7 separate regions of the Homo sapiens genome follow, and all the other regions are linked to region 4. Evidence: promoter capture Hi-C in 16 types of primary human blood cells and fetal thymus (Javierre and others, 2016). All regions are on one chromosome and are shown on one strand. The core of a region is centred on a gene start or on the middle of the fragment in contact, and the rest is flanking DNA. Distances in the headings are between cores, read along the strand shown. Region 1 holds the start of TLCD2 (TLC domain containing 2). Region 2 overlaps PRPF8 (pre-mRNA processing factor 8). Region 3 overlaps PRPF8 (pre-mRNA processing factor 8). Region 4 holds the start of OVCA2 (OVCA2 serine hydrolase domain containing). Region 5 overlaps SGSM2 (small G protein signaling modulator 2). Region 6 overlaps LOC284009 (a long non-coding RNA gene). Region 7 overlaps SRR (serine racemase).

The links. Contacts are between HindIII fragments. The CHiCAGO score rates a contact against its expected background, and 5 or more counts as called.
Region 1: the fragment with the promoter of TLCD2 here is called in contact with the fragment with the promoter of OVCA2 in region 4 in 1 of 17 cell types (fetal thymus); the score reaches 6.2 in fetal thymus.
Region 2: a contact is called between a fragment that was not itself captured here and the fragment with the promoter of OVCA2 in region 4, in 5 of 17 cell types (total CD8 T cells, naive CD8 T cells, naive CD4 T cells and 2 more). The highest score is 9.0, in total CD8 T cells.
Region 3: a contact is called between a fragment that was not itself captured here and the fragment with the promoter of OVCA2 in region 4, in 4 of 17 cell types (naive CD8 T cells, naive CD4 T cells, fetal thymus and 1 more). The highest score is 6.9, in naive CD8 T cells.
Region 5: a fragment that was not itself captured here is called in contact with the fragment with the promoter of OVCA2 in region 4 in 1 of 17 cell types (endothelial precursors); the score reaches 5.4 in endothelial precursors.
Region 6: a contact is called between a fragment that was not itself captured here and the fragment with the promoter of OVCA2 in region 4, in 1 of 17 cell types (endothelial precursors). The highest score is 7.2, in endothelial precursors.
Region 7: a fragment that was not itself captured here is called in contact with the fragment with the promoter of OVCA2 in region 4 in 4 of 17 cell types (activated CD4 T cells, total CD8 T cells, naive CD8 T cells and 1 more); the score reaches 6.1 in activated CD4 T cells.

Annotation. Positions count from the first base shown.
Region 1 is chr17:1,708,399-1,711,626 of GRCh38, reverse strand. TLCD2 (TLC domain containing 2) reads left to right here and starts at 1,250. Exons shown (of 4, transcript NM_001164407.2): 1 at 1,250-1,560; 2 at 1,741-1,823; 3 at 2,046-2,128. The coding sequence starts at 1,385. MIR22HG (MIR22 host gene) reads left to right here. Exons shown (of 3, transcript NR_028505.2): 3 at 1-123. The HindIII fragment of the contact is 21,928 bases long and covers 1-3,228 here.
Region 2 is chr17:1,676,348-1,679,652 of GRCh38, reverse strand. PRPF8 (pre-mRNA processing factor 8) reads left to right here. Exons shown (of 43, transcript NM_006445.4): 9 at 1-44; 10 at 243-362; 11 at 447-636; 12 at 772-891; 13 at 1,001-1,135; 14 at 1,959-2,088; 15 at 2,481-2,677; 16 at 2,942-3,148; 17 at 3,283-3,305. Among named protein-coding and RNA genes, the nearest start is that of PRPF8, 6.9 kb to the left of the region's middle. The HindIII fragment of the contact is 3,942 bases long and covers 1-3,305 here.
Region 3 is chr17:1,658,424-1,661,671 of GRCh38, reverse strand. PRPF8 (pre-mRNA processing factor 8) reads left to right here. Exons shown (of 43, transcript NM_006445.4): 26 at 1-61; 27 at 266-401; 28 at 510-679; 29 at 845-974; 30 at 1,094-1,240; 31 at 1,671-1,831; 32 at 2,124-2,315; 33 at 2,909-3,146. Among named protein-coding and RNA genes, the nearest start is that of RILP, 10 kb to the right of the region's middle. The HindIII fragment of the contact is 1,619 bases long and covers 485-2,103 here.
Region 4 is chr17:2,040,772-2,043,623 of GRCh38, reverse strand. It overlaps OVCA2 (OVCA2 serine hydrolase domain containing), which reads right to left and starts at 1,602. Exons shown (of 2, transcript NM_080822.3): 1 at 1,393-1,602; 2 at 199-1,019. The coding sequence starts at 1,576. The coding sequence ends at 520. DPH1 (diphthamide biosynthesis 1) reads right to left here. Exons shown (of 13, transcript NM_001383.6): 10 at 2,443-2,521; 11 at 2,003-2,143; 12 at 1,749-1,856; 13 at 1-1,019. The coding sequence ends at 1,767. RefSeq lists silencers at 1,300-1,499, 2,010-2,099 and an enhancer at 1,690-1,749. The HindIII fragment of the contact is 21,411 bases long and covers 1-2,852 here.
Region 5 is chr17:2,360,924-2,363,917 of GRCh38, reverse strand. It overlaps SGSM2 (small G protein signaling modulator 2), which reads right to left. Exons shown (of 24, transcript NM_014853.3): 3 at 2,119-2,281; 4 at 1,648-1,809; 5 at 1,013-1,080; 6 at 784-929; 7 at 319-453. Among named protein-coding and RNA genes, the nearest start is that of SGSM2, 25 kb to the right of the region's middle. The HindIII fragment of the contact is 2,667 bases long and covers 312-2,978 here.
Region 6 is chr17:2,404,201-2,407,063 of GRCh38, reverse strand. LOC284009 (a long non-coding RNA gene) reads left to right here. Exons shown (of 3, transcript NR_028335.1): 3 at 1-83. Among named protein-coding and RNA genes, the nearest start is that of MNT, 4.6 kb to the right of the region's middle. The HindIII fragment of the contact is 2,381 bases long and covers 245-2,625 here.
Region 7 is chr17:2,313,038-2,315,962 of GRCh38, reverse strand. SRR (serine racemase) reads right to left here. Exons shown (of 8, transcript NM_021947.3): 2 at 235-406. The coding sequence starts at 402. Among named protein-coding and RNA genes, the nearest start is that of SRR, 11 kb to the right of the region's middle. The HindIII fragment of the contact is 1,310 bases long and covers 600-1,909 here.

The sequences.
Region 1 (3,228 bases), core at 1-2,500, 330 kb after region 4:
AAAAATGTTGAGTGGTTATCTTTGTATGGTGGAACAAAGTCACTGTAATTTTCATCTTTGGTTTTTCTGTAATTTCCAAATTTTCCACATTTTGTATTTCATATAATATAATTTAAGAGATCAGTGTTATTATTTAAACCTTTGGAGAGGTGGGGGTAGAAGAATGAAGGGAAGACCTCAGCTTTTTGGTGAGAAGGTTTGGTTGGGGCACCTCTTGGTTTATGAACTTAATTCTTTGAAGTAGCTGGAATCCTCCCTCTCAGCCTGCAGGAAACAGCTCTGACTTGCTGACTGTCTGCCAGCTGAAGAGGTGGAGTGGAGTAAGGTGGAAGGAAAGCAGTGCAACCTGGGGCTCTTCAGGTGGTGAGGGGCTGGGGGAGGCTCTTCCTCTTAAGGCTGGAGGGTTCTGGAATCCTAACCGCCCTGCTACTAAGAGCAGGACAGGTCTGTTTTTCTCTTCTGACTCTGTCCCAGCCTTGAAGGGACCCTGTGTTACCTTTCCTTGCCCTCGGATTGAAGATATTCTACCCACCCAACGGGTACCAAGCCCTTGGGGAAGGAAGTGCTTTTCAAGACTGGGGGCCAGCGATTCCCTTTTGCGTCCTCTTCCTAATGAGGCTCCTCCGTAGGGCCGAAAACAATGCTGGGGGTCGGGGCGGGGCCCAGTGGGTCGCTTCTCCAACATGGGGTCTCCTGGGGGTTGTGGGGGAGGGGGAGCAGAACTGCTGGAATTACAGGTTTGCCGGGATATGGTAAAGGCGTGGAAACCTCAGGAGGCCGAAGGGGTGGCTCCAAGAAAGTGGGGCACCCCGTCCCCACCACGGACGCGGGGAGGGAAGTGGGGGCGGCGGCCAGGCTCGGGCAGGTACGAGTGGGCTGCGCTAGCCTCTGCCTTGCAGGGTGTGGCGGTGGGTGGTGATGACGCTCAGCAGGTGAAAGTCGCGGGAGCCGGGAAGAGGTCAAGGTTCGTGGGTGGGGCCCGGGAGTGTCAGTTGAGGTTAGACTGGAGACCCAGGTCTGCAACTCCAGCGCTTCAGGACGCTTGGAGCTGGGGAGGACCCCTATTGGCGAACATCCCGGAGGCCCCCCGAGCTCCAGGGCATGGTCTACTGCCCGGAGCCCCCGAACCGCTCCCCCGGCTGGAGCAAGACGCAATCGGTGGCCAAGGCTCCGGGGGCGGCGGCCCCGCGGCTGCTCCAATCACCGCCCAGGCGAGGGACTGGGCGTGGACGAACGGGGAAAAGTTCCTGCTGATCCCAAAGGCGCGGCGGGGAGGGGAGCCGGGGCCCCAGCCCTGCCGGGAAACGGGTTCCCAGTCCCGGCCGAGAGCGCGGGCGCCGAGGGGACCGACCCGGACTCCCCGCAACCCCCCAACCGCCAGGCCATGGCGCCCACGGGGCTCCTGGTGGCCGGCGCCTCCTTCCTCGCGTTCCGGGGGCTGCACTGGGGGTTGCGGCGGCTGCCCACGCCGGAATCGGCCGCTCGGGACCGCTGGCAGTGGTGGAACCTCTGCGTCTCCCTGGCGCACAGCCTGCTCTCGGGGACCGGGGCGCTGCTCGGGTGCGGGCTTGGGGGCTCGAGGCGCACGGGGCGAGGGCGAGGGGTGGGAGGCTGAGGCCGGGAGACCCGCCGGGCGTCTCCAGAGCTGAGACTGGGGTGGGGGTGCGCACAGGGAGACTGCGGCCGGGGCCTCGAGAGGCTGACCATGCCCCCCCCCATGTCCCCACCCCATGCCCCCAGCCTGTCACTGTACCCTCAGATGGCCGCCGACCCCATCCATGGCCACCCGCGCTGGGCTCTGGTGCTGGTGGCTGTGTCTGTGGGTGAGTCTGCAGGGAAGGCTGGGCCGGTGGTGGGGATGGGGCGGGGGGCAGGTTCTGCTGTCCTTCCAGGTCCATTCCCCGCCCCCATGGGGGTTAAACGTTCCTGAAGGCTTTACCAAGGGAAAACTAAGAACTGGGAGAGGGGCGGGGCGGGGGGGCTGGAAATCCTCTCTAAGCTGCCCGGGCTCTGGAGCAGCCTAACCCCTACCCCCATGCCCACAGGTTACTTCCTGGCAGACGGAGCTGACCTGCTGTGGAACCAGACCTTGGGCAAGACCTGGGATCTTCTCTGTCATCATTTGGTGGTGAGACTCTGAGGGCAGAAGCCAGACAGGAAGGGAGGAGGGGAGCCCTGTCCAGCCCGAGGTTCCCAGTCTCTCCTCATTCTTTTTTTTTTTTTTTTTTTTTTTTTTTGAGACGGAGTCTCACTCTGTCACCCAGGCTGGGGTCCAGTGGTTCGGCCTCTGTTCACTGCAACCTTCGCCTCCTGGGTTCAAGCAATTCTCCTGCCTCAGCCTCCCACGTAGCTGGGATTACAGGCACCCGCCACCACGCCCAAGTAATTTTTTGTATTTTTAGTAAAGACGGGGTTTCTCCATGTTGGCCAGGCTGGTCTCGAACTTCTGACCTCAGGTGATCCGCCCACTTCAGCCTTCCAAAGTGCTGGGATTACAAGCATGAGCCACCGCCCCCGGCCCTCTCTTCATTTTGCTGTCCTATAATTTCCCACAGTCTCTGCCCCCAGCTGGTGCTTGGCTCCCAGTCTTAGGCTGAGTTAGGGGGAGGAGGTGGCTGCTGGCCACAGCTGGGGAGTCCAGATACCCACCAGGCCAGGGCACCTACCATGCCAGGGCACTCACCATACAAGGGCACCCACCATGCCAGGGCACCCACCATGTGAGCCTAAGGAGTTTGGGTGCCCCCACAGGTGTCCAGCTGATCACAGAAATGTGGAATATGGAGCTTTTCTGAGAAGGGGGTGTCCTGGTATAGGGTGTGGGTATGGGGCATGAAAGCCCTAGGCCAGGCACGGTGGCTTATGCCTATAATCCCAGCACACTGGGAGGCCGAGGCGGGTGGATCACGAGGTCAGGAGATCGAGACCATCCTGACTAACAGTGAAACCCCGTCTCTACTAAAAATACAAAAATTACCTGGGTGTGGTGGCGCGCACCGGTAGTCCCAGCTACTCTGGAAGCTGAGGCAGGAGAATTGCTTGAACCCAGGAGGCAGAGGTTGCAGTGAGCCAAGATCACACCACTGCACTCCAGCCTGGTGGCAGAGTGAGAGTCTGTCTCGAAAAAAAAAAAAAAAAAAAAAAAAAGCAAGCAAGCCCAGGAATGGGAGGTTAAGGGGGTATTAGGGGGTGAGACAGCCCCTCCCTGGGCCAAGCCTGGTTCCATCT
Region 2 (3,305 bases), core at 221-2,720, 360 kb after region 4:
GGTCGCACCCGTCGGGCCCTGGACATACCCCTTGTCAAGAACTGGTAAGGTTTTTCCCTGTGGCAGGGGGAATGATAGTGGATGTGTAGGAGAAAAGACTCCAACTAGGTGGGCATGTAGCCTTTTTTTTAAATTCTTTTTTTTTTTTTCCCATAAAAATGGTAGACAACCCAAGGCTTGCAGCCTTTAGCAGAGTGTCTGGAAGAAGAGATGGCCAAACTCTGGTGGGCTTATTTTTCCAGGTATCGGGAGCATTGTCCTGCCGGGCAGCCTGTGAAAGTGAGGGTCTCCTACCAGAAGCTGCTTAAGTACTATGTGCTGAATGCCCTGAAGCATCGGCCCCCTAAGGCTCAAAAGAAGAGGTAAGGTGCCCCAGGGGCCCTGCGCAGACTTCTGTTCCAGAGATATCAGTAGGCTGACTCTTACTCTCCATGTTCCCACCTCAGGTATTTGTTCCGCTCCTTCAAAGCCACCAAATTCTTTCAGTCCACAAAGCTGGACTGGGTGGAGGTTGGGCTCCAGGTTTGCCGCCAGGGCTACAACATGCTCAACCTTCTCATTCACCGCAAAAACCTCAACTACCTGCACCTGGACTACAACTTCAACCTCAAGCCTGTGAAAACGCTCACCACCAAGGTGCCTGCATTGGACCCTAGGGGCCTCCTGGGCTTCAAGGACGGACAGTTGTTTTCCTCTGGTTACTGATGAAGGCATACATCAGTTGGGTCCATTGCTCATTCACGTTCTGTCTGTTTTTTGCATCTTCTCCAGGAAAGAAAGAAATCTCGTTTTGGGAATGCTTTCCACCTGTGTCGGGAAGTTCTGCGTTTGACTAAGCTGGTGGTGGATAGTCACGTGCAGTATCGGCTGGGCAATGTGGATGCCTTCCAGGTAAGGTTAGGTATTCCCAACCCCTGCCTGGGTGAGGACGCTGGAGGAAGCCTGTGCTGACCGTGGAGCTGGTTTAAGCTCCAGGTCTGATGGGGCAATTGTATTGCAGCTGGCAGATGGATTGCAGTATATATTTGCCCATGTTGGGCAGTTGACGGGCATGTATCGATACAAATACAAGCTGATGCGACAGATTCGCATGTGCAAGGACCTGAAGCATCTCATCTATTATCGTTTCAACACGGTGAGACCTTGACTTTACTGACTTTCTTTTTTTTGAGACAGAGTCTTACTCTTGTCTCTTGGGCTGGTGTGCAATGGCACGATCTTGGCTCACTGCAACCTCCGCCTCCTGAGTTCAAGCAATTCTCCTGCCTCAGCCTCCCGAGTAGCTGGGATTACAGGTGCCCGCCACCACGCCTGGCAATTTTTTTTTTGTTTTGTTTTGAAACTGAGTCTTTCTCTGTTGCCCCAGCTGGAGTACAATGGCACGATCTTGGCTCACCACAGCCTCCGCCTCCCGGGTTGAAGTGATTCTCCTGCTTCAGCCTCCCAAGTAGCTGGGACTACAGGCGCGCACCACCATGCCTGGCTAGTTTTTGAAATTTTAGTAGAGATGGGGTTTCACTGTATTGGCCAGGCTGGTCTTGAACTCCTGACCTCAGGTGATCCACACTCCTCGGCCTCCCAAAGTACTGGGATTACCAGCGTGAGTCACCGTGCCCAGCCTCACTGGACTTAACTTTCTCAGATCTTTTTTCATGTATACATTTAGACAGGGCTCTTTCCAGGGACCTATTTGGAGAGCAGCTATGACTGTGTCCTTACTGCTCCTTTAAATTCACATGGGCGATCTTAGTTCCTGGTTTTTGCCTTAAGGTTTCTCATTTACCCTTTTGTTTTAGATGTTGAGGTCCCAGAGTTTTTTTTTCTTTTTACCCCTCTACTGCCATACCTACATTCCTCTGTATGTATATTATACATATATGCCCCACCTCTGCCCAGGTTTCTATTGTTGTTTAAATGCATTGCTAACTTGTATTCTTAACTTCTGCTTGGGATCGTAGGGCCCTGTAGGGAAGGGTCCTGGCTGTGGCTTCTGGGCTGCCGGTTGGCGAGTCTGGCTCTTTTTCATGCGTGGCATTACCCCTTTATTAGAGCGATGGCTTGGCAACCTCCTGGCCCGGCAGTTTGAAGGTGAGTGGTTTTCTCTGTGTCCAACTTCTCCTGTTATTGCTTCAAAAGTACCTGCCCCTGTTTGAGTCTGTTCCCTGCTCTTGTATGAGCACTCTTCCTACTGGATTGCCTTTAGGTCCAGTTCTGAAATGAGTCTGACCTAGTATTCTATTTCTTGGGCTTCCTTCTGGGGCCTTGAGAGGCAGTCATGCATTTGCAGGAGTGGAAATTCCTCAGAAGCATAGTTGTGAATGTTTAAGGTAGCTCGTCTTTTTGCATATGCTGGGCACAGGGACGCTTTGTTAATACCTAATTTTATTAATAACCATAATGAGTGAGGAGCATGAAGGTAGAGACCCTTATTGAAAGCAAGGAATCTTCCTTGTAATCCCCTTGGGACACTCTACTTCCAGGTCGACACTCAAAGGGGGTGGCAAAGACAGTAACAAAGCAGCGAGTGGAGTCACATTTTGACCTTGAGCTGCGGGCAGCTGTGATGCATGATATTCTGGACATGATGCCTGAGGGGATCAAGCAGAACAAGGCCCGGACAATCCTGCAGCACCTCAGTGAAGCCTGGCGCTGCTGGAAAGCCAACATTCCCTGGAAGGTGGGTGTCTCTTTATTTCCTTGGAGGCGTAAACATCCGTCTTTAGGGTAGGATTACCACTTCGGGAATCATTAGGGGGCTATCTGGCTCCAATCTCTTTTCTTTTCCCTTTTAGACAGGGAAAAGAAGCACCATGTTGCTTAGGCTGGCCTCAAGCTCCTGAGCTCAAGCGATCCTCCTTAGCCTCCTGAGTAGCCGGGACTACAGATGTGTGCCACAGTGCCTGGCTGGATCCTGGCTTGATTGTGCTTTTTGGACTTTTAGGTCCCTGGGCTGCCGACGCCCATAGAGAATATGATCCTTCGATACGTGAAGGCCAAGGCTGACTGGTGGACCAACACTGCCCACTACAACCGAGAACGGATCCGCCGAGGGGCCACTGTGGACAAGACTGTTTGTAAAAAGAATCTGGGCCGCCTCACCCGGCTCTATCTGAAGGCAGAACAGGAGCGGCAGCACAACTACCTGAAGGTTGGGCAGAGTAGGCTGGGCTGGGTGTGAGTGGTGGGGGAGTGGGCAAGAGGGAGGACTGTAGAGTTGTGACTGAACCTTGTTCTGGCAGGATCGGGCTGTAGCGGGAGGCTAATTTCATGTCCACCTTACAGGACGGGCCTTACATCACAGCGGA
Region 3 (3,248 bases), core at 45-2,544, 380 kb after region 4:
ATTCTCAGCGGGTCTGGGCTGAGTACGCACTCAAGAGGCAAGAGGCCATTGCTCAGAACAGGTGGGCACCTAGGAGGGCATGCCAACCCTGGGGCAGGGGCAGTGGTGGCCTTTGAACCGTGTGGAGTTCAGGGTCAGAGCATGCCATGGTTGTATGGAGGTGAGAAGGCTGGTTCTACTGACCCTAATTATTTTTGGCCAGGAAGGAGTGCTGAGCTCCTCATATGAGATCACGTTTTGACTTGAATCTTTCTTTTTTTGGAAGACGCCTGACTTTAGAAGACCTAGAAGATTCATGGGATCGTGGCATTCCTCGAATCAATACCCTCTTCCAGAAGGACCGGCACACACTGGCTTATGATAAGGGCTGGCGTGTCAGAACTGACTTTAAGCAGTATCAGGTATGTAGAGGGAGCAGATTTTCCCTGAGTCAGGAAAATCCATGGCTATCCCCGAAACTTGGGGCAATAGGCACCCAGAAGCTTGACCGTGCCTGCCTTGCCATCTAGGTTTTGAAGCAGAATCCGTTCTGGTGGACACACCAGCGGCATGATGGGAAGCTCTGGAACCTGAACAACTACCGTACAGACATGATCCAGGCCCTGGGCGGTGTGGAAGGCATTCTGGAACACACACTCTTTAAGGGCACTTACTTCCCTACCTGGGAGGGGCTTTTCTGGTGAGGATTCTCCTCTCTTAGAGGGACCTGTCACAACCCTTTGAGCTCATCTCTTGTATGCCTCTGTGATTTCCTGTGGTGTTTCCCAGACAGCCACCTCCAGGAGGTTAGCAGTGTGCTGGGAAATGGCAGGATATCACCTCACCTGCTTCTCTTGCTCCCCAGGGAGAAGGCCAGTGGCTTTGAGGAATCTATGAAGTGGAAGAAGCTAACTAATGCTCAGCGATCAGGACTGAACCAGATTCCCAATCGTAGATTCACCCTCTGGTGGTCCCCGACCATTAATCGAGCCAATGTGAGTGTGATTGACACTGGAGAGGGGAAGCTAAAGACAGTTGCTGCTTCTTGCCTTGGTTATGTCGTGAGCGCCCGAGTCTCTTGATCTCTAATGTCACATTGTCGTTTTCCTGGCAGGTATATGTAGGCTTTCAGGTGCAGCTAGACCTGACGGGTATCTTCATGCACGGCAAGATCCCCACGCTGAAGATCTCTCTCATCCAGATCTTCCGAGCTCACTTGTGGCAGAAGATCCATGAGAGCATTGTTATGGACTTATGTCAGGTGGGCTGGAATCGAGGGGAGAGGGTACTGTAGAGAGTCAGCTCAGGTGGAATTGAGGGGAGAGGGTACTGTACAGAGTCAGCTCAGGTGGAATCGAGGGGAGAGGGTACTGTACAGAGTCAGCTCAGGTGGAATCGTGGGGAGAGGGTACTGTAGAGAGTCAGCTCAGGTGGAATCGCAGGGAGAGGGTGCTGTACAGAGTCAGCTTAGGTGGAATCGCGGGGAGAGGGTGCTGTACAGAGTCAGCTCAGGTGGAATCGCGGGGAGAGCGTGCTGTACAGAGTCAGCTCAGCTTGCTCTTTTGCATATGGGAAATCCACCCTGGAAGCTCTGAGGATGAGACTCCTATTGCCTCATTATCTTATTGTACAAACTCTGATTTTAATTGGGCTTCCTTAACAAGTCTTAATCTCTCCATGTTTTCCTTCAGGTGTTTGACCAGGAACTTGATGCACTGGAAATTGAGACAGTACAAAAGGAGACAATCCATCCCCGAAAGTCATATAAGATGAACTCTTCCTGTGCAGATATCCTGCTCTTTGCCTCCTATAAGTGGAATGTCTCCCGGCCCTCATTGCTGGCTGACTCCAAGTAAGTGCCTCAGGACCCAGCCCTAGGCAGCCAGGACACTTTCGTTTTCCTGTTCTTCTAGCCCTGCAACTTTAGGAATTGTCCTGTCTGCCTTTGTTTCAAACTTGGAGCCAGTGCTACGCTTGGAGCCTGTCAACACCCTTAGTCAGATCTGCTGATTCTCTGGGGTCCTGCTGACCTGGAACAAGTTGGTGGAGTGGGTGGGATGGTTTTGGGATTTAAGTGGTTCTGGTTCTGGGGACATTGGTTATGCCCATGGTTTCTTAGAAGCTTGAACCCTCTTCATCCTCAGGGATGTGATGGACAGCACCACCACCCAGAAATACTGGATTGACATCCAGTTGCGCTGGGGGGACTATGATTCCCACGACATTGAGCGCTACGCCCGGGCCAAGTTCCTGGACTACACCACCGACAACATGAGTATCTACCCTTCGCCCACAGGTGTACTCATCGCCATTGACCTGGCCTATAACTTGCACAGGTGAGTTGAGGCTCAGGACCATGTATTTTCAGGCCAGGCGCAGTGGCTCACACCTGTAATCCCAGCACTTTGGGAGGCCGCGGTGGGCAGATTGTCTGAGCTCAGGAGTTTGAGACCAGTCTGGGCAACATGGTGAAACCCTGTCTCTACCAAAATACAAAAAATTAGCTGGGCGTGGTGGTCCACGCCTGTAGTCCCAGCTACTCAGAAGGTTGAGGTGGGAGAATTACTTGAACCCGGGAGGCGGAGCTTGCAGTGAACCGAGATTGCGCCACTGCACTCCAGCCTGGGCGACAGAGTGAGACTCCATCTCAAAGAAAAATAATAATAATAATAAATAAATAAATAATCCGTGTATTTTCCATTAGCTCCATACTTTAACGTAGTCATACTTTTTTACTTTACCTAAGTGAGAGGAAGTGGCCCATTCCTCCTATGGGTCACTGATTCTCTTCTCCAGCCTGTATGTACACATGAGCAGAGTGTTGTCAGCCTGGCGAACAGTCTTTCTTCCTCTGTAGAGTTGGCAGCTTGTCTTGTTTCTGGGGCTGTCATTCTCGTCTTAACTTTTCTTGACCCTTTTATCCTCACAGTGCCTATGGAAACTGGTTCCCAGGCAGCAAGCCTCTCATACAACAGGCCATGGCCAAGATCATGAAGGCAAACCCTGCCCTGTATGTGTTACGTGAACGGATCCGCAAGGGGCTACAGCTCTATTCATCTGAACCCACTGAGCCTTATTTGTCTTCTCAGAACTATGGTGAGCTCTTCTCCAACCAGATTATCTGGTTTGTGGATGACACCAACGTCTACAGAGTGACTATTCACAAGGTGAGTGTTAGCAGCAGTGTATAGGTGCGGGACTCTGTACATGGCTGTGGGAGAGTAATGGGCTAAGTGTGTACACATGCTGGGAAGAAGGCAGGATGGGGA
Region 4 (2,852 bases), core at 353-2,852:
CCTCCTTCCCTTCAGTTTGGGACTTAAAACTTCCACCAATAACGTGAGTATGTGCACCCATGCAGCAGCCTGTCCGAGGACTCACAACTGGAGACACCTCCCTGCTTGGCGCTGCCCAGAAAACTATGTAGATGGCCAAGAAACCGACTTCCATTATAAAATGTTTTTCTGTGTGTACCAGGAAAAAGATGCTCAAAATCCAAATCACCACTTTATTATGTGGCAGTCACCATGGTGCCAGCCTCTGCCTTCCCCATGTCACCCTCCTAATCCAGGGCTCTCCAACCATATTCATGTTTGCGTTTTCACAAGTCAATGTCCATTAAGGCCTTGTGCTCCCCTTTTCTTCAGTACAGGGCAGGGCCCTTATAATTTGGGTCTCAAGAATTGATAGTTGTCTCTTAACTGGTTCTGGTGAGGCGCACTCACAGCAGTGAGTGGAGGGTCCTGGGAGGGCATGGATGACGGAGGCTGCCCCTAGAGGAGCTGGATGTAGGAGCAGAGACATTTCTTGATCTTTCACTCTGCAAACTGGTCCAAGAACTTGAGGTAGGCCTGACGCTGGGGTGCAGCTGCTGGAATGAAGTGGCCACCAGAGTGGGTGAGGGTGATGGCTCCGGGAAATTGGCTGGCCAGTTGCACACTCTCCTGAGAGGGGATGACTTTGTCAGTGTCCCCAAAAACATGGAGCGAAGGCAATGACAAGGGCCTTTGCAGGATGGATTCCTTGAACCCAATGCCCCGGGGACAGAAACCAGACACCAAGAGGATAAACCGTGGCAAGGGGAAGCGGGGATCGCCTGCCTGGCCCAGGGCACACACAAGGGCTGCTAGCGCAGCCCCTTGGCTGAAACCAAGAAGGCCGTCAAAAGGCCCCAGCCTGTTCAGTGCCTGTGCCACCATCCCCAGTGATTCCTCCAGGCCCCTGCAGACGGCGGGCTCTTCCAATGCGGAGAAAACGTCGGCCTCCTGCTCTGAAAACCACCAGCCTCGAGGCTGCTCCTCCGGAGGGCAGGACCCTACAGCGATATGAGGAAAAAGGATGGGATTAGGGCATGGGAGGCTCCAGGAAGGAAAGAAATGAGAAAGGGCAGGAGGGTTCGAGATGACAGAGAGAAAAAGGGAATCGAGGCAAAAGTCTGGGGGAAATGAGAGGGGGGAAATGAGTGGATTGGCCTGAACAGGAGACAGCGGAGGAAGACGGTGAAGGCGGAAGCCTGGGAGGACAGGCTGCAGTTTGAGCAAAGAGGGTATGGGTCGCGAGAAATGAAGGGTGTGGACTGGGTGGGAGGAATGCGGGTGGACGCAGGGTGGGGGATGCTGAAGGGTGTCGAGGGGGACGAAACAAGATGGAGGAAACTGAGTGCGTTTCCGGAGCGGGGCTTGTCTCACCGAAGTCTGATCTGGCGCCCTCGGGGCCCGGGGGGTCGGGGACCGGGTGCGGGCCGCTGAGGCACACGAGCTCGGCGCGACCCCGCAGCGCCTTCCTCAGCGCCCCGGTCTTCTCACGGAAGCCCCGCTCGCTCTGCCGGAAGCCCGCCAGGCACAGGACCCGCAGGGGTCGCTGCGCGGCCATTATGCCCGGCAAGGAGCGACGGAAGCACCGGAAGCGGTCTTTCCCCGAGCGGAAGCACAATGCACGGGGCGGAACCGAACGTCAGCACCGCCCCGAGGGCGGGCCTCGGAGCGCCAAGGCGTTCCCATGACAACGGCAAAAGGCGGGGCGCACCCAGAGCGGGGGCTGATACCTGAGGCCCGGGAGCGCGTCAAGGAGCCAGCGGCGCCACCTTCTCGTCCCTGCAGCTGCAGTCCTCGCAAGCCACGGCCGAAGGGGGACGCGCGGACCCCTCCTGCACCTGAGGTCGCAGACTTTGGTTAGGGTCTCGCTCCTGCGACCCTGCGTTTCCCTCCGCTCCGCTCCTGTGCGTTTCCCGTCGCGGTCGCAGGGCGGCGGCCAGTGCCCAGGCGCGGTCTCTCCTCCCTCCTGGAAGCCCCCGCCTACCTTCCCCCGCGCGGGCCGGCCCGGGGCGTGGGGACGGCGGTCCTGGCCGTGGTTCACCGTCCAGGGCCCCAAGGAGCTGCCAGCGTAGAAGTCCATCGGGTAGGGCTGCTGCCAGGAAATGTCCCTCAGAGCCACGGCCGCCTAGGGGAGGGGAGGGAGGGACAATAACATCTGCCAGTGTTTTTCTGCCCCTGGATTACTGAATTCAGTCCTCACGACGGCCTGTGAAGGGCACACTGTCCCCTGCCACAGAAGGGAACTGTGTGGTTCAGGGCCTTGCCTAAGGCTACACAGCTAGGAAGTGACTCCGCTGGAGAAATCGAGACAGACTCCGGAATCTACGAACATAACGAAGTGCTGCCCACCCACCCCACTCCACTCCAGACCTCACCTTTGAGAACCACGTCCAAAGCCCACTCTCTCCCAGAGCTTGGTGTTACCTCATAGGGTGTCAGCAGCGGCTTGGGGAAGGCTGTGCCCCAGTCAATGGAGAGACGTGGACATGCCACCTGCACCCACCTGGGAAGGGAAGCCAGGTCAGACCCTAGGAAGGGCCTCCTCGTCGCCCAGGCAGCATGCTGAAGAACATGACAGTGCCCCCAGCACACCCATTCATTAACAGGCTTTATGAATCCTAAAGTAAAGACAGTGACCCACTGCTGTTTGGAATACTGTATTGTTGCGTGTTTTCTCCTGTTTCCTCTGCCGACAATGAGCTTTCCAGGGCAGCTCACTGGTGATAGTATCCCCAGAACCACATTTAGTACCTGGTACAGGGCAGGTGTCAGCCACCGCTCAAACTCATCTCACAAGGACAAATGTGATGTTGCCATTGCCTCTGAGCCCCAAA
Region 5 (2,994 bases), core at 396-2,895, 320 kb before region 4:
GCACAGGAAAACAGGACTCAGTTTCCCTGGTCAGCCTGGTGCCACTGACTCTCTCCTGCCAGCCTCCTGGATGCCAGGTCCATTCCAGGCCAGCCATACCCACACTGCGGACTCCCCTCGCCTGCTGGCTGCCATTCCTGTCCCCTGCCAACTAAAGGCTGGGCGTGAGTCGTGTGAAACAGGGAGTTGGGAGGCTGGGGCCATTCTCCCCCCCGTCTCTGGTCAAGCTCCTCAGGAAAGGAATAGCCATGGCTAGAGGCTTCCAGTCGTCTCGTTCGGGGACCTTCGGGGAGGGATGGCAGGATGAAGCTTTCCTACCGGCTGCACCAGCACGTGGTTCTTGCCATAGAGCAGCCGCGTCCGTGAGTTCTGGTGCAGGGACTCCACACACTCGCGGGCACAGGCAGCCAGCCTGTCCTCCGACGCGCTGCCGCTTGAGTGCCGTTTCCGGATCTGTGTGGAAGGCCGGGGCTCAGCCTCCAGCCTTGGGAAACTGGCCTCAAGGCTTGGGAACCCTCACGCTTCCATGCTGACCCTCTCCAGCTGACCCCAGGGGTCCTTCCTGCCCCGGTTTACTCCCAGCCACCCTCTGCTCTCCAGCCACGGACCAGCATGGGCTCCCGGCATTTGTGTTAAGTTTTATTGTGCGGAGAAGGCTCTTCTGAGGCAGCCGCTACCTTGGGGCATCTCCAAGGCCTGTCCCGTAGAGAGGCCGGTTTCCCGTCCCTACAGGCCCATGGGCATAGCCCAGATGAGCCCAAAGGGTGGGGAGGGGGCACCTACCCCCAGGGCTGGGCGCTTTGCAGGGGAGTCCTGGCGAGTAGGTGGACCCCGGATGCGGTGCCGCTGGACCAGCTCATCAGCAGAGGGGTCAGTCCAGTAGTGATCGGCTGTCTTGAGCTTAGTGTATTCCAAGGCACAGGGTCCCACTGTGGAGACAGAGACAGCCAGCCCAGACGATGCTCCCTCAGCACCTGCCCCGTACCCACTGTGCCTGTGCTCTCAGGCTCACCTAGAAGAGAGGCCAGGATCGGGCCGAACACAGGGTCTGCCAGCAGTGCCTCCTTCTCGTAGTACTTGCTGCCAGGAGACAGACAGTGTGACTGCCGAGGCTCCGGGGCTCATTCCAGGGCAGTCAAGCTCACCAGGTAGGGACATCCCCACAAAGACCAGATTCAGATCAGTCATCAAGAAACAGTGAGTCCTTAGGGACTGGGCTTCGTGAGGTGCCTGGTATGGCCAATGCCTTGAGGGCACCGAAGGGGACGGGGAGATGGAGGGTTGCCTACAGGCTGTCACGGACAGGCAAGCATCCTGAGGGCTGGGGCTGAGGGACGTCGGGAGACGGGTCAAGGGAGGGGCTGCTTGGGGAACGAGGCGGTCACCTGCAGTTTTTGGGGAACGGGGCGGTCACCTGCAGTTTTTGGGGAACGGGGCGGTCACCTGCAGTTTTTGGGGAACGGGGCGGTCACCTGCAGTTTTTGGGAACGGGGCGGTCACCTGCAGTTTTGGGGGGAACGGGGCGGTCACCTGCAGTTTTTGGGGAACGGGGCGGTCACCTGCAGTTTTTGGGGAACGGGGCGGTCACCTGCAGTTTTGGGGGGAACGGGGTGGTCACCTGCAGTTTTTGGGGAACGGGGCGGTCACCTGCAGTTTTCCGCCAGGTATTGCACGACCTTGTCCAGAACTTTCTCGATGAGCGCCGTGCGTACCCATACGTGTTTCAAGGCCTGAGGGCTGAGGGCCGGGGCCTTCCCGCTGGCTGAGCCCTGTCTCCGCAGGGCCTCCTGGCTGACCCCTGAGGGTTTCCTGCAAAGGCGGGGAGGGCTCCAGGAGTGCAGTGGTCTAGGGGTAAACCCCAGAATGCTGGCATTGGGAGTGGGGCTTGGTACCCCAAGATGGGAGCACAGAGAACTGACTGGGGTTGGGAGGTGAAGGAGGGGTACAGAGCCTTGTGCCCACAAGGAACCAATCCCCTCCCTCAAGCTGATCCCTCACCCAGAGGCCCTGCAAGGAACAGGCCCAGGATGCCAACTTTCCGATGGGTGTCCTAGGAAGTAGCAATTGCCAAGTGGGAAGAGCTGAAAGGAGGGAAGAAGGGGCTGGCCCAGGGCTCACCTGCCCTCTGCTTGTTGCTGCAGCTCCTGTACCTTGTGGCAAATCTCCCCCGCCACTGGGCACGTCTTCCCCACCTTGGTGAACAGGGCTGCCATCTTGTCACTGCGCAGGAAGCCAGCGGCACGGCGTCTCAGCTGATGCAAGAGGCAAGCCTCCACTGCACCTAGGCCACAAAGGGAAACGGCATCTGAGCCTGGGAAAGACGGGGGAGCAGGAAGAAAAGCTCCTCTTCCCCATACCTGTGGTGAGGCAAGGGGTAAGGGCAAGCCAAGGGCAGGCCAGGGAGATACCCTGGCTTCCTTCCAAAATTCCCCTCCCCGTCCCTCGGCTCCTGCCCGGGGCGAAGAGCTTTGACATGCCAAGCTGTCCCTCTCCCTCGCCTGGTGCGCACACACCTCCTATATGCAGCCTCACCCCTGGGGGTCATGAGGACCAAAGCTCCCCATTCAGGGTGGCATGAGTGGCTCCAAACCTGACAGCAAGGCACAGCACCTACAGGACGGGGATGTGAGGAACACCCGACTCGGGAGCCTTTCTGGAGGGCACGGAGGATGCGGTTGCTAAGGAACAGGGCTCTGCAGGAGCTAAAATATTGATGAAGTCACTGCAGAGCTTGGACCCGACAGTGGCCGCTGGACTGATGAGCCCAGCAGCTGAGGGAGAGATTTCTCTTTTCCATGCTAGGAGGGCTTCCCTCCATTCATTCATGGTTTAGGGTTAGGCTTAGTCTCTGTCTGGACTTTCCACAGACAGACCCTGCAGGAAGAAAAGAAGGGCTTGGTAGGAGACAGTAGGGAGCTGCCCTGTGCCCAGACAGACTCTAAAGACAGGAGTGTGTATGTGTGTGGGGCGGAGAAGCTTCTACATGATTGGGCC
Region 6 (2,863 bases), core at 186-2,685, 360 kb before region 4:
CTGAACTGCATTTCTTTCCTTATTACTCAGTGTCCACACCCACGGTGGCTGCCTGGATAAAAATCTGCCCCTTTCTCCCGTCACCTTTCATGCCAGACAAAAGCCCCAGTGAGTAATGGTGACCTACCCAGGTCCAGCTAGCAGCTCTCCATTCCTGAGTGGCCTGGGGCAGAACAGGGTCCTGCGAGCTCCTGGATCCCAAGTCTGATTCCCTTTCCCTGTCTTCCCGCTTATCTGCTAAGCTTGTTTATTGGGGACCACTAAGCAAAGTGAATGATTATTCCTGTCTTTAACGAGGAGGGGTGGAGTTCCCTCTCCATCTTCACCCACTTCTGGGAGGCTTTCAGGGACTCAACACCCCACACTGATAGCACTTCCCCAGGCCTGGCCCAGCCAGCCAAAGAGGAGGACCAGGCCACTTCTCAACCTAGCTGATGCTTGGCAGCTTTGTGACCTTGGATACACCTTCTCTTGGGAGGTCAGACCCCATGATCCCAGCTCTTCCAGCTATGACATCATGTGAGGCTGCAATTTTTTTTTTTTTTTTTTTGAGACAGTATCTTGCTATGTTGCCCAGGCTGGCCTTGAAATCCTGGGCTCAGGCGATTCTCCTGTCTCAGCCTCCCACGTAGCTGGAACTTAGGGCGTGAGCCACCGCGCCCAGCTTCTGGAAAGGACATGAATGGGGAGGTGGAACTTGATTGGACCTGTTCTGTGAGTTCAGGAGAGGTCCTCTGACAACTCACTTGGGGTGGGGAAAGGAGGTAAAGAGTCCTGTGGAAACTTTTGGCTGTGGGGACCCCATTTCACTGATGATTGAATGGGTCCACCTCTGTCAAAGGAATTCAGAGTCCCACTCATCATTCAGACTGGGGGAATCAGGCTCAGTTGACTGGCCCAGCCTTAAATCCACTGAATTTGTTTTTATCTCTACATAGAAAAACGGAATTACAGTTGCTTCTCACTGTCCAATGGGGATTGGTTCCTGGAGCCTCCCTGAATACCTGTCCATGGATGATGCTCAAATCCCTTACATGTAACCTATGCACATCCTCAGGTATCCTTTAACTCATCTCTGCGCTACTCAAATACCTCATACCATGTAAATGCTGTGTAAATAGTTCTTGTGCTGTGTTGGTTTTTAAATTTGTATTATTTTTTCTTGTATATTTTCCATTTTTTTTTCCTGAATATTTTTGATCCACGGTTAGTTGCCTCCATGGGTGCGGACCCACGGACACGGAGGCTGCACCTTCTGAAATGAGCATGGCGGCGCCCTCTGGGTCCTCGTGTCGTCCTGTCTCTGGTGCTGCATCCAGCACGGTGGCGAACAGCAGAACTAATCTTTTGCAAGTTATCACAGTGGAGTGGAGTTCCGCTCTGTTTGCTTTTGCCCCGCTCTGGCTTACCAGAGGTCCCCTGGCCTTGGCCACAGCATACCTAGCCTAGTGCTTGGCACCTCAGGCACACAATAAATATTTATGAAATGGATCTTCTCTGGTATGTCTTGAGTGTACTAGTCTTCTGTTTTTTCCTCTTCATCCTGCAGCCAGCTTCCTCCCATGGGTCTTGTTTTAATGATGGTATGTGAAAAGCTCCTTAGCTGCTTGCAAAAGATGAGACATCAGGCTTGAAGGGTTGGGATTTCCTGTGAACATCTGTACTTTCGGCTTCACGCCCTTTCCCCCATCTCATGACTCAGGCTTTGTAGGAGTCAGGGCACTGATTTTCATAGCTCTTGGAGTTGATACTTTGTTAGGTGAGTGGTGGGGGATAGGAAGACAGTTCCACTAAGGGGATGTCTCTGGCTCAGCATATTAAAAAATTGGGGAATTGGTGCTTCTTATTGTGGTTGGTGAAAAAAAGAATAAAAGATTAAAAAATTGGAGGACATAATGGAATTTGAACTGGGAGGTGGGGTGCACAAGACTCGGGGAGGAAGACTGAAAACGGAAACCCTCTCGTGAGAAACTCACAATGATGGACAGCCCAGCTTTTCTCCTGCTCCAAGGTACTAAGCACCCAGAAGCCATGAAGAAACTTAAGGAACAGCCGGGCGCGGTGGCTCACGCCTGTCATCCCAGCCCTTTGGGAGGCCAAGACAGGCAGATCACTTGAGGTCAGGAGTTTGAGACCAGCCTGGCCAACATGGTGAAACCCCGTCTCTACTAAAAATACAAAAATTAGCCGGGCGTGGTGGTGCGTGCTTGTAATCCCAGCTACTCCGGAGGCTGAGGCAGGAGAATCACTTGAACCTGGGAGGCAGAAGTTGCAGTGAGCCAAGATCACACCACTGCACTCCAGCCTGGGCAACAGAGGGAGACTCTATCTCAAAAAAGAAAAAAAGAAAAAGAAACTTAAGGAACACCTTTTTAGAGATTGCTGGCCTTTGGATAATTCCCCAAACCTGCTAACCTTTCTGCTGAAACCAAAAGGACTTATTTCTCTTTCTCTTGAGTGAGTACATTTGCCAGCTTCTATCCTGGCTCCACCCCCTTGGAACAGGAAGCTGGGGCTAAAATATTAAACAGCCCTCCTATTCATTCCCCTCTTCTTTCATGCCCTCACATCGCCATTTATAGGTATCTCCCACCCCCACTGTCCATTCCTCAACTGGGGAAAGCTTGGTTGATGAGGTATTGTTTTTGGCCATTTTCAGGCTCCTGTAGGCAACAATAGGTCCAGAAACAGCCTCCCCCACCCTTTTTTTTTTTTTTTTTTTTTTTTTTTGGAGACGGAGTCTCTCTCTGTGGCCCAGGCTGGAGTGCAGTGGTGTCATCTCAGCTCACTGCAACCTCCACCTCCCGGGTTCAAGTGACTCTCCTGCCTTAACCACCCCCAGTAGCTGGGATTACAGGCGCCT
Region 7 (2,925 bases), core at 5-2,504, 270 kb before region 4:
AAGTTATATATATTATCCTAATTATAAGGATTTATGACTGTGTAAAAGTTGCTTATCAACACTATGATGCTAGGTAAAACAAGGACTTGAAAGGAAAATTTCTGTAACCTTTTTTCCAGCTGTATAAAGGCATTAATTTACTTCTGCCTATCTCATTGGGTGGTCAGGAGAATCAAACTGATATGTGAAAGGGTGTGAAAACATACATGATACACTGAGAAAAAGGATTGTTACCTTAAAAGATCCTGTTTTCTGGAAGAGTTCACATTTGAAGAAAAGATTGCGCCCTGTTAGTTGATTCAAAATGGAGCTTGTTAGCACTGGTGTGAGGTGGATAGAATCTCGAATGTTGATATGAGCTTTTTCAACATCAGCAAAGGAGATGCAATACTGAGCACACATGGTTCTGAAACCCAGGAATAAGAAAGGGGTCAAAGCAAAGTCTGAGACAGTATGTTTATTGAAGAGATTTTGAAAATACGTAACAGAATAGACCTGGGGCCTGTGGTGTCATGTGGAAATTCTCCATTATTGGAGTGTCAGAATTTCCCTAAAAGAGAGTTGACTTAAAAGCTGAACGAAGTTTTTCTGGTGAAGCTTTGAGGGAAGTAACTGATGGTGATTACAGAAGGCTAAAGCCCACTCCCCACCCACACCACCCATCTCTTGGCACTGTTGGCACTGCCACTGGTCTCCATCTTCCTTTTTTTTTTTTTTTTTTTGAGACGGAGTCTCGCTCTGTAGCCCAGGCTGGAGTGCAGTGGCACAATCTCGGCTCACTGCAACCTCCGCCTCCCGGGTCAAGCAATTCTCCTGCCTCAGCCTCCCGAGTAGCTGGGATTACAGGAATGTGCCATCGTGCCCAGCTAATTTTTATATTTTTAGTAGACACGGGGTTTCACCATGTTGTCCAGGCTGGTCTTGAACTTCTGACCTCGTGATCCGCCTGCCTCGGCCTCCCAAAGTGCTGGGATTACAGGTGTAAGCCACCGTGCCCAGCTCCACCTTTCTTTTAATCATCGTTGTGAAGCTACTTGAATGAATTGGATTCAATTTTTATATTATTTTTAATTTATAAATTTAAATTTTTAATTTTTAATAAAAATTTAACAAATTATTTGATAAAGAAAAAATAGCTAGACTATTCCATTTAAATAACTATGTTCATTTTCTTTATTTCCCTCTGCATTTTCTTTTTTTTTGTTTTTTGAGATGGTGTTTCACTCCTGTTGTCCCGGCTGGAGTGCACTGGTGCAGTCCTGGCTCACCACAACCTCCACATCCCAGGTTCAAGCGATTCTCCTGCTTCAGCCTCCCGAGTAGCTGAGATTACAGGCATGCACCACCATGCCCAGCTAATTTTTTTTTTTTTTTTTTTTTGAGACAGAGTCTCGCTCTGTCACCCAGGCTGGAGTGCAGTGGCGCGATCTCGGCTCACTGCAAGCTCCGCCTCCCGGGTTCACGCCATTCTCCTGCCTCAGCCTCCCTGGTAGCTGGGACTACAGGCACCTGCCACCATGCCTGGCTAATTTTTTGTATTTTTAGTAAAGACGGGGTTTCACCGTGTTAGCCAGGATAGTCTCAATCTCCTGACCTCGTGATCCGCCTGCCTCGGCCTCCCAAAGTGCTGGGATTACAGGCGTGAGCCACCAAACCCGGCCAATTTTGTATTTTTAATAGAGACGGGGTTTCTCCATGTTGTGCAGGCTGGTCTCGAACTCCCGACCTCAGGTGATCCGCCTGCCTCAGACTCCCAAAGTGCTGGGATTATAGGCGTGAGTCACTGCGCCCGGCTCCTTCTGCATTCTCAATATACATTATGTAACAGTTAAAGCAAACATTTTATTTGCTCCTACATTTGACTCAGTTTCTTTACAATTTTCATAATTTTCAATAACTACATTAAGCTTCCACTTTCCACTGTGTCTATTGTAGCAGTTAAATATGAAGTTTCTCTATTTTTCCTTATTACAAAAGAATCTATATTCATTAGAAAACTGAGTTAATCTGAAAATACAGAGATACAAAAAGAACATGAAAATAGCCACGAAACCTTCCTACCTAAAGACAGTTGCTATCCAGTGGTTTACCTTTCCAGGCCCAACTACATATGCAGACAAAACTCTTTGGTAGGTTTGGTAACTTCTTTTTTTGTCAGACAGTATTATGAATATCAATGAATCTCATAGGTGAGTACATTTATCAACATTTTTTTTTTGTTGTTTTTTTGAGATGGAGTTTCACTGTCACCCAGACTGAAGTGCAGTGGCATGACTGTGGCTCACTGCAACCTCTGCCTCCTGGGTTCAAGCAATTCTCCTGCCTCAACCTCCTGAGTTGCTGGCATTACAGGCGCCCACCACCACACCCAGCTAATTTTTATATTTTTCGTAGAGGCGGGGTTTCACCATGTTGGCCAGGCTGGTCTTGAACTCCTGATCTTAGGTGATCCGCCCGCCTCGGCCTCCCAAAGTGCTGGTATTACAGGCGTGAGCCACCACGCCCGGCCCATTTATCCAACTTTTTTTTTTTTTTTGAGAGAGTCTTGCTCTGCCGCCAGGCTGGAGTGCGGTGGCGCCATCTCAGCTCACTGCAACCTCTGCCTCCCAGGTTCAAGCGATTCTCCTGCCCTAGCCTCCCTAGTAGCTGGGATTACAGGCGCCTGCCACCACACCCAGCTAATTTTTTTATTTTTAGTGGAGACAGGGTTTCACCATGTTGGCCAGGCTAGTCTCGAACTCCTGACTTCAGGCAATCCACCTGGCTCAGCCTCCCAAAGTGCTGGGATTACAGGCGTGAGCCACTGCGCCCGGCTTTATCCAACTTTTAAAATGACTTAATAGTACTTCTTTTACAAAAATACAATAATTTAGCTGGGGGCAGTGACACACACTGGTAGTCCCGGCTACTTGGGAGGCTAAGGCG